Linked DNA regions of Homo sapiens: region 1 is linked to region 2. The links are contacts of gene promoters, found by promoter capture Hi-C in blood cells and fetal thymus (Javierre and others, 2016). All regions are on one chromosome and are shown on one strand. Each heading gives the region's core, a stretch centred on a gene start or on the middle of the fragment in contact. The rest is flanking DNA. Distances are from core to core; before and after follow the strand shown. Region 1 has its middle 42 kb from the start of BNIP1. Region 2 holds the start of ATP6V0E1 (ATPase H+ transporting V0 subunit e1).

Region 1 (5,271 bases), core at 2,079-4,578, 200 kb after region 2:
AGTGAGCTGAGATCGTGCCACTGCACTCCAGCCTGGGTGACAGAGCGAGACTCTGTCTCAAAAAAAAAACACCAAAAACCAAAAAAAACCAACCAAACAAACAAAAACAAGCAAACAAAAAAACAAACAAAACAGAAAACAAACAAGCCAAAAAAAAAAATCCCCAAAACAAACACACAAAACCTGCTGTCTTTGTGCAGGATGATCACTCGGGAGACTAATTTGGCAATATCTAGTAAGGCTGAATTTGTGTCTGCTCCATACCTTGGTCTTTCCACACCGAGGTAGGTACCTGAGAGCAGGCGTATTCAAAATTTGGTCTCAGTAATCCTTTATTCCCTTAAAAATTACTGAGGACTCCAAAAGAGTTTTTGTTTATTGGATATTAATATTTACCCTATTAGAAATTAAAACTGAGAAATATTAAAAGTATTTATTTACTAATTAAACAACAGTGCTAAATCAATCACAATGTAACATAACATCTTTTTAGTAAAAAATAACCATGCTTTTTCAAAATGAAAAAATTAATGAGAAGAAGGCACTGTTTTGCATTTTTGGAAATCTCCTTAGTATCTTATTCAGTAGAAGTCACTGGAGTCTCATTAATGCATCTGCAGCTGTATTGGTTAAAATACGCAAATACGCAAAAGCATATCTGGCTTTATTCACACAGATATGTAGTTAGAAAGGGAGATTCTCTCAAACAAATCAGCAAGAAAACAACCAACAATCCCATCAAAGAGTGGGCTAAGGACATGAATAGACAGTTCTCAAAAGAAGATATACAAATGGCCAACAAACGTATGGAAAAATGCTCAACATCGCAAACCAAAACCACAATGAGATACCAACTTACTCCTGCAAGAATGGCCATAATAAAAAAATTAAAAAATAATAGATGTTGGTGTGGACGTGGTGAAAAGGGAACACTTTTACACTGTTGGTGGGAGTGTAAACTCGTACAACCACTATGGAAAACCGTGGAGATTCCTTAAAGAATTAAAAGTGGATCTACTGTTTGATCCAGCAATCCCACTACTAGGTATCTACCCAGAGGAAAAGAAGTCATTATACAAAAAAGATACCTGCACACGGATGTTTATAGCAGCACAATTCGCAATTGCAAAAATGTGGAACCAACCCAAATGCCCATCAATCAACGAGTGGATAAAGAAAATGGTATATATACCGTGGACTATAACTCAGCCGAAAAAAGAATGAAATAATGGCATTCACAGCAACCTGGATGGAATCAGAGACTATTATTCTAAGTGAAGTAACTCAGGAATGGAAAATCAAACATCGTGTGTTCTCACTCATAAGTGGGAGCTAAGCTGTGAGGACGCAAAGGCATAAGAATGATACATTGGACTTTGGGGGGTTGGGGGAAAGGGTGAAGTGGGGTGAGGGATAAAAGACTACAAATTGGGTGCAGCGTACACTGCTCGGGTGATAGGTGCACCAAAATCTCAGAAATAAAAAAAATAAATAAAAGAAAAAAACAAAAGGGAGGTTCTCACAGGCCCCTGAAAGGGTCTCAGGGACTCCCTAGGGTTCCTCCGACCACACTTTGAGGACTGATAGCTTAGAGCCTCTCTTGGGCAGCTTCGTAAGTGCACGTCTACACAGGAAGAACATTAATGCATTGTCTGTAATAGCGAATATTTGAAACAACTGAAATGCACATCTAAAGGATGAAGAAATTGGAGTGTATTTCTTCAGTGGACTACAATGCAGCAGGAAAAGGAATGTTTGGCATCTGTGTGTATCAACATGGATCAATCTCACGATGTCAATCAAAAAAAGCAGCCGCAGAACGATTCTCATAGTTGACTACTATTTGTGTAAAGTTACATTTTTTGGTTGTGGTAAAATACATATAACATACAATTGACTATCTTAACCATTTGTAAGTGTATTTATTTCAGTGGTATTAAATACACTCATGATGTTACGCAACCATCAGCACCATCCAGCTCCAGAACTCTTTTTTTCTTTTGAGACAGAGTTTCGCTCTTGTTGCCCAGGCTGGCGTGTGGTGGCACGATCTTGGCTCACTGCAACCTCTGCCTCGCAGGTTCTAAGCGATTCTCCTGCCTCAGCCTCCCAAGTAGCTGGGACTACAGGTGCCTACCACCATGCCCAGTTAGTTTTATTTTTTATTTTTATATTTGTAGTAGAGACAGGGTTTTGCCATGTTGGCCAGGCTGGTCTCAAACTCCTGACCTCAGGTGATCTGCCTGCCTCGGCCTCCCAAAGTGCTGTGATTACAGGCGTGAGCCACTGCACCCGGCCTCAGAACTGTTTATCTTGTGAAAGTGAAGCTCTGTCCCCATTATACAACTCCCCACTCTCCCCTTCCCCCAGGCCCTGACAACCAGCATTTCACTTCCTGTCTCTATGATTTTGACTACTCGGCTCCGATAAGTGGAATCATACTGTATTTATCTTTTTGTGACTGGCTTATTTCACCTAGCCTGATGTCCTCAAGCTTCACTCATGTTATAGCATAGGTCAGAATTTCCTTCCTTTTTAACACTGAATAATATTCCTTGCATAAAGTTTTAAACATGAAAAACAATTACATATTTTAATGGATATATACGCATGTGGTAAAATAGAAAGAAACGAATGAAAAGAATAGACACCAAAGTCAGGATGGTGTCTGCCTCTGCAGGGGCGAGGGGAGATGGTACTGGGAGGGGCGTGCAGGGGCTTCGGTGGAGTCAGCAGTAGCTTGCTTCCTAGCCAGGGGATTTTATTCTGTATGCCAGCGCTTCCTTACACTCATGCCGTGCCCAGCATACACGTGTGCTGAGCTCAACACTCAGGTGTGCCTGAGATATCCACACCTTGAGTCCTCTGGGCAGCCTAGCAGAGCCTGGGGCAACTGGAGCCCCTGGGCTGTGAGCCCACTTTGGGGAGGCCCAGTTGAGTGACAGGACCTGAGAAGCACCCTGTGGTGCCCCAGCGGCCTCAGGAGCACCGTGAGCCTTGGTGGTATGCCCTGATCTAGGCGGGGTCCTGAGTGCCATCAAGAAAGAGCTGCTTGCTGCCTGGATGTGGAGGACAGTAGCCAGCCGCCAGGCATTATGCTGTCTGGTTTGGGCAAGAGCCACAGGGGCTGGTGAGCTTGCATTGCAGGTGCCCAGGAGTAGCGGGTACAGACTGAAGGGAGGCCCCCTAGGGGTTGGAGGGAAGGATGAGGGCAGGTGCCTGGGCAGGCCCAGCTCCGGGCTGCCTGCTCTGTCTTCACACAGATGCTTCTGTTTGGGTGACTGTAGGGGTACAGGGGTAACTGTGCCACCTGCAGGCAACCATTGCAGTCAATCATGTGTGCTCTACAAGTTAGAGTGTCAGCATTATTGTGACATACTCAGTATGAAAAAATCGGACTGGCTCACGCCTATAATTCCAGCACTTTGGGAGACCAAGGCAGGCAGATGACTTGAGGTCAGGAGTTCAAGACCAGCCTGGTCAACATAATGAAATCCTGTCTCTACTAAAAATACAAAAAAAAAAAAAAAAATTACCCGGGAGTGATGGTGCATGCCTATAACTCCAGCTACTCGGGAGGCTGAGGCACAAGAATCTCTTGAATCTGGGAGGCAGGGGTTGCAGTGAGCCGAGATTGCACCACCGCACTCCAGCCTGGGCGACAGAGTGAGACTCTGTCTCAAAAAGGAAAAAAAAGAAAGTTGGACTGGATTAGAAATCCTAAGAAGTTCCTATATCATAATTGCCAAGGAAAGAAAGGGTGATCCTTTATGTGTAGTTTTGACCATTGTAAAAATTTTAAGGTAGAAAAACACAATTTTTAAACCTTTTTAAAAGTCACTTACTTGTAAAAGCAAAATTTCTTGGCAATGATGATTACTAAGAATCTGAAACTCTTGCATTCAAGGGATGATATGTCATTTAACAGAAAGAAGAGGAAACTGGTCACAGTGGCTGATGCCTGTAATTCCAGCACTTTGGGAGGCCAAAGCGGGAGGATTGTTTGGGGCCAGAGGTCAAAGCTGCAGGGAGCCATGGTTGCACCATTGCACTCCAGCCTGGGCAACAGAATGAGACCATGTCTCTTAAAAATCAATCAATCAATCAATCAATCAATCAATCAATCAATGATGAAGAATCATTTAAAAAAAACCTAGAATTTGAAGCTTGTCTCATTAAATCAGGACTCACGGGTGCCCACTGAGCCTGAAGCCTGACATAAAAATTATTTTTATGGAAGTAAGTCTTCCTTAAGATTTTGGAAAATATTTTATTCAAATTTTATGTTAAATATATTTTCCCCTCTTTGTATTTTACCTTTGAATCAGAATTATATAATCTAAAAATGTGGTAATTTTTTTTCTTTTTTTTAGAGACAGAGTCTTGCTCTGTTGCTCACGCTGGAATGCAGTGGCATGATCACGGTCCCTGCAGCCTTCACTTTCCTGGGCTCAAGCGATCCTCCAACCTTGGCCTCCTGAGTAGCTGGGACTACAGACATGTGTCACCATGTCCAGCTAATTTTTGAATTTGTAGTAGAGATGGGGTTTTGCCATGTTGGCCAGGCTGTTCTCGAACTCCTGACCTCAGGTGATCCACCTGCCTCGGCTTCCCAAAGTGCTGGGATTACAGACGTGAGCCACCATACCTGGCCTGATTTCCATTTAGAAAATTGACTAACTACATGGTTCCTTAAAACACAAAATTTAAAGCGTTTGCAGAGAGTAACTTCTTTTATTTTTATTTTATAGAGACAGAATCTCTCTGCCATCCCAGGCTGGAGTGCAGTGGTGCACTTATAGCTCAATGCAGCCTTTACCTCCTGGGCTCGACCGATCCTCCTACCTCAGCCTCCTGAGTAGCTGGGACCACAGGCATACACTTCCATGACTGGCTAATTTTTTCATTTTTATTTTTTGTAGAGATAGGATCTAACTATGTTACCCAGGCTGGTCTCAAACTCCTGGCCTCAAGCGATCTTCCCACCTCAGCTTCCCAAGGTGCTAGGATTACAGGCATGAACCACTGCTCCCAGATGCAGATAGTCATTTCTTAGCAGAGGTGTGCTGGATAACAGAGACACTTAAAGTGAAACATTCACTTCGGTATTCATCTTGGCAAAATGAAAATGTATGTCCATACAAACATCTGTACACAAATGTTCACAGCAGCTTTAATAGCCAAAAAAAAAGGGACACAACTCAAATATCCAGCAGGTGAATGGTTAAACACACTCTGGGATGTCTGTACACTGGAATACTACTGAGCAAT
Region 2 (5,289 bases), core at 1,902-4,401:
CAGCGAGACCCTGTCTCTAAATAAATTAATAAAAATAAATTAAAAGGTTAAGATAGTAACTTTTATGTTACCTGTATTTTACCATTTTTAAAAGGAAAGGGCCTGACTGCGGCAGCTCATACCTGTAATCCTAGCATTTTGGGAGGCCAAGGCAGGAGGATTCCTTGAGGCCGGAGTTCGAGACCAGCCTGGGCAACATGGTGAAACCCCATCTCTACACACACATACACACACACACACACACACACATACACAAGCACACACACGCACACACACAATTAGGCCAGCATAGTGGCATGCGCCTGTAGTCCTAGCTACTATGGAGGCCGAGGTGGGAAGATCCCTTGAGCCCAGGAGTTCAAGGCAGTAGTAAGCTATGATTGTACCACCATATGCCAGCCTGGGTGACAGAGCACGACTCTGCCTCAAAAAAAAGAAAGAAAGGGGCTGGGCATGGTGGCTCACTCCTATTATCCCAGCACTTTGGGAGGCCGAGGTGGGCGGATCACTTGAGGTCAGGAGTTTGAGACCAGCCTGGCCAACATGGTGAAACCCCATCTCTCCTAAAAATACAAAAAAAAAAAAATAGCCTGGTGTGGTGGAGGGCGCTGGTAAATCCCAGCTACTCAGGAGGCTGCAGCAGGAGAATCGCTTGAACCAGGGAGGTGGAGGTTGCAGCGAGCCATTGTCATGCTACTGCACTCCAGCCTGGGCAACAGAGTGAGATTCCATCAAAAAAAGAAAAAAGAAAGAAAGAAAGAGAGAGGAAGGAAGGAAGGAAGGAAGGAAGGAAGGAAGGAAGGAAGGAAGGAGAAAGTAGAAATGAACTTCTTTCTCTAATTTTGTTCTGACCTCATCCCTTCTTAGCTACTCAATTCAGTTGCACAGTTATTTATTGAGCACATTCTATGTATAAAGTCCTCCCGGAAACAAAGATCAGTGAAACAGTGCCTATTCTCAAGGAGTTGGCCCTCTAGTAGAGGGTTGGTCAAGATACATATACAACAAGGCCAAAGAGATGCGCTAACAGGATGAAATGGGTCTTGGAGAAGGCGGTGTTTGGGCTAGAACTTAAGGACCATAGGATTTCTGCTGGGGCTAAGTTTTGGGGAAGCATTATGAGCACAAAGGAGACAAACTAGTTTTCTACATTGCTGATCAGGTTAAAGGCTTAGAATCATGTCCGAAAAGTTGGTACAGATGTTGAAGATTATTGGTCCAGTTTCCCGTTTAATACAGGAATCCATTCTACTTGATGAAAGAAATCAGGAGTTAATGCAATGTGGCTACTGCAAGGAAACCATGGTCCCTGGTAAAGCACATTGCATTTAAAGACCTGCTTTCTATCTTGCTTTCACCTGTAAGCTTTATCATCAAGCTCCTCAACCTCTCTGAGAACTGGCTTCCTTGTCTATTCCAAGCTTGGCGCATACTATAACTAACATATGTGAAAATTCTCAGCAAGCGTTCTAAGCCCTGTTTATCAGCTCAGCACGGTGGCTTATGCCAGTAATCCCGGCACTTTGGGAGGCTGAGGTGGAGGATCCCTTCAGGCCAGGAGTTTAAGACCCACCGGGGCAACATAGCGAGGCTCTGTCTCTACAAAACATTTTAAAAATTAGCTGGTGTGGTGGTGCACACCTGTAGTCCCAGCTCCTCAGGAGGCTGAGGCAGAAGGATGGCTTGAGCCCGGGAGTTCCAGGCAGCAGTGAGCTATGGAGCACCACTGCACTCCAGCCTGGGTGACAGAGCAAGGCCCTGTCTCAAAAAACAAACAAACAAACAAAACTGTTTTACCTTTCTTTTTCTTTCTTTCTTTTTTTTTTTTTTTTTGAGGCAGAGTTTCACTCTGTCGCCAAGGCTGGAGTGCAGTGGTGCGATCTCAGCTCATTATAACCTCTGCCTCCCAGGGATTCAAGCGGTTCTTGTTCCTCAGCCTCCTGAGTGGCTGGGACTACAGGTGCATACCTGGCCAATTTTTGTATTTTTAGTAGAGATGGGATTTCACCATGTTGCCCAGGCTAGTCTTGAACTACTGACCTCAGGTGATCTGCCCGCCTCGGCCTCCCAAAGTGCTGGGATTACAGGTGTGAGCCACCATGCCTGGCCTGTTTTTCTTCTTACCATTCTGGCTAATTTCTACTTGTCTTTCAAGGCTCAGCAAGGACGAGTTGGGTAGAAAGCCTTGCAGGGTCGTCCACTTACTTTCACACTGCATTGAGTCGCCTGTTTGCAAGGTCATCTGCTCCCCAGAATGTGAACTCCCTCAGGGGTGCCTGATTGACTTCTGTAACTCCAGAGCCTGGCACAGCACACAAGATAAATAGTGGTGCGCTAGTTAAGAGCTCTGGCCTTGAAAATCAGATAATCAGGGGTTGAATCCTGGCCCTGCCACTTACTATGTGACTTTGGGCAAGATCCTTATCCTCTTCCCTGGGCCTCAGTTTCTTCAACTGCAAAGTGGGGATAATAATTACAATTACCTCATAGGCTGAAGTGAGGAGTTCAACACGGGCTCATGCACTTTTTTTTTTTTCTTTTGAGACAGAGTGTTGTTCTGTTGCCCAGGCTGGAGTGCAGTGGCGCAATCTCGGCTCACTGCAACCTCCACCTCCCGAGTTCAATTGATTCTCCTGCCTCAGCCTCCTGAGTAGCTGGGACCACAGGCGCGCACCACCACACCCAGCTAATTTTTGTATTTTTAGTAGAGACAGGGTTACACCATGTTGGCCAGGCTGGTCTCGAACTCCTGACCTCAAGTGATCCGCCTGCCTCAGCCTGCCAAAGTGCTGGGATTACAGGCGTGAGCCACCGCACCCGGCCTGGGGCTCATGAACTTAAAGATCATGGCCCAGTGCCAGGCACACGGGAATTCAGAATAGTAAGGGACAACTATTGTTAAGTTCTCTATGTCTGTTGCATAAGTAGATGAGGCTGTAGATAACTACACTCTTTGTCTAAAAGGGCCAAGTTCTCATCAGAACACTTTGCTGAGCCCCGGGTGACCGAATCCCTAGCTCTGGGGTGAGCGACATGCCTCCAAGGAGCTGCAGCCAGGAGACAGCCAGGCGAAGGCGGGGCTCTGCCTCTGGGCTCCCCGAGGGGCGGAGGCCGGCGCGCGGGTCACGTGGGGGCGCGGGAGGCGGGGCTTGCACACGCTGGTCACGCGGTCAGCTATTGACACTTCCTGGTGGGATCCGAGTGAGGCGACGGGGTAGGGGTTGGCGCTCAGGCGGCGACCATGGCGTATCACGGCCTCACTGTGCCTCTCATTGTGATGAGCGTGTTCTGGGGCTTCGTCGGCTTCTTGGTGCCTTGGTTCATCCCTAAGGGTCCTAACCGGGGGTAAGTGCGTGAGGCCCGCCTTGGGAGGAACGGGCGGTGAGGAGCTAGCAGGCCGGGGCGGGGAAAGGCACGACCCCCACACGGGTCAGAGAACGTTGCATGGGCGCCCCCCGCGCTGCAGAGTCAGGCCCCCGACCCGGCGGAACTCCTTGTGTTCCTTTTCGCAGCAGCTTCAGTGTCCTCCGGCCTGAGCGAGTGGAGGGTGACCTTTGGTGGACCCCCCTTGGAAACGAGTTTCAGGGGAATTTTTTCTCATCATAGTCCTGTGTGGGGAGGTGCAGTCGGAAATGAGCAGGCCGAATCTGGGAGAAACTGGGGTTTGTCCCTAGTCGACTGTCCCCCTTTAGCCCTGCCTTCCACCCACATGAGGCCTCGTTTGCCTGAACTTAAGGATCAAATAAATAAAACAGAAATTGGCTTCTCTGCCTCCCATGCTGTCGCGGTTGCGTACAGAACAAGCTCCTTCGACAACATTGAGCCCAGGCCTTGCATCTAGTGGGCGCCAGGAGGCGGTTGGGGCCTGATCTAAAGCGAGATTAATTACCAAAGAGCAGGAGGTATTGTTGAGAAACCCCTGCGTCATGCCTTTTGGAGGGCGCTCCGGCTCTTGTATGTGAGTGTAAGAAGTGCTTAGAATGATTGGCTAAGAAAGATTTTGTTTTTCCAGACTTCTTTGTTGGTTAGAGCTTTGTCTCTTTTGGAATTAAACTTTTTAACTGTAGTATAAAATAGAGGCTTAATCTTCAAAGGAGCCTTGGAACACCCTCTTCCTGGTTCCTCTTTTGCTTCTCAGTCATTTTTTTCTCAGTTCAAGATGATGAGAGGTGAAACTTCGACTGAAGTCAGTTTGTCAGAAACACCATCTCTTGCTTTATTCTTGAACCTAATTGGTGGCTTCATAGTGCCTGGTTTTCATAGTACCTTGTATGCACAGGAGGCACCCAATAAATACCTGTTGAGTGAATAGTTCTATTGTCTTTATTAAAAGAAAAAGATTTTTGGCCAGGTGCCGTGGCTCACGCCTGTAATCCCAGCACTTTGGGAGGCCAAGGCGGGCGGATCACGAGGTCAGGAGATCGAGACCATCCTGGCTAACACGGTGAAACCCGTCTCTACTAAAAACACAAAAAATTAGCCGGGCGTGGTGGCGGGCGCCTGTAATCCCAGCTACTCGGGAGGCTGAGGCAGGAGAATGGCGTGAACCCAGGAGGCAGAGCTTGCAGTGAGCCGAGATCGCGCCACTGCACTCCAGCCTGGGCGACAGAGCGAGACTCCGTCTCAAAAAAAAAAAAAAAAAAGAAAGAAAAAGATTTTTACTACTTCCCTAATATTTTGTGACCTGAACCCCTTTTGCTCCCTGGGATACATTTGCTTTATTAGTCTAAAATTATTTTTTTTTAAAAGATACATGGTAGATGAATTTTTATCATTTTTAAGTATCAAGTTCCTCCTCCCTGGTAACACCAGTTATATGGGGTCATCTCTCCTACCTATAGAGGTTGATGGACAGAGTCAGAATTCTGGCATTATTAAAGCAATTGTATTTACCAAAGTTAATTAGACTTGTTTTTCCTACTGGAGTTAGCGAACAACAAAGTGCTTCTTTGTTGTGTTTATATCTTCAACTGTTTCATTACCCTACTGTCTGCCTTTATGGCCTTTGTACTCAAAGAAGCATTTATTAATGTACTAATAGCACTGACAATTCCTTTCTTAAAGACCATTCTCTCCCCTTCCTTGGGATGTCATTGCCATTATCCAGGGTAATGAAACCCATCCTGTTTCCACTTAGCCCTAGAGAGTGTCATGATTCAGGTATTTGACCAGCTAGTGATATATAGACATGTGTCACTTAACAAAAGGACTATGTTTGAGAAATGTGTTAGTTGGGCTTTTGTGTGAACAAAGAGTTTACTTAAACAGATGGTACAGCCTACTACACAC

What was found. Contacts are between HindIII fragments. The CHiCAGO score rates a contact against its expected background, and 5 or more counts as called.
Region 1: a fragment that was not itself captured here is called in contact with the fragment with the promoter of ATP6V0E1 in region 2 in 2 of 17 cell types (total CD4 T cells and non-activated CD4 T cells); the score reaches 5.2 in total CD4 T cells.

The regions. Positions count from the first base shown.
Region 1 is chr5:173,184,364-173,189,634 of GRCh38, forward strand. No RefSeq gene overlaps it. Among named protein-coding and RNA genes, the nearest start is that of BNIP1, 42 kb to the left of the region's middle. RefSeq lists a silencer at 3,280-3,399. The HindIII fragment of the contact is 1,672 bases long and covers 2,493-4,164 here.
Region 2 is chr5:172,980,620-172,985,908 of GRCh38, forward strand. It overlaps ATP6V0E1 (ATPase H+ transporting V0 subunit e1), which reads left to right and starts at 3,152. Exons shown (of 4, transcript NM_003945.4): 1 at 3,152-3,345. The coding sequence starts at 3,242. RefSeq lists an enhancer at 2,967-3,261 and a silencer at 3,027-3,206. The HindIII fragment of the contact is 8,334 bases long and covers 1,420-5,289 here.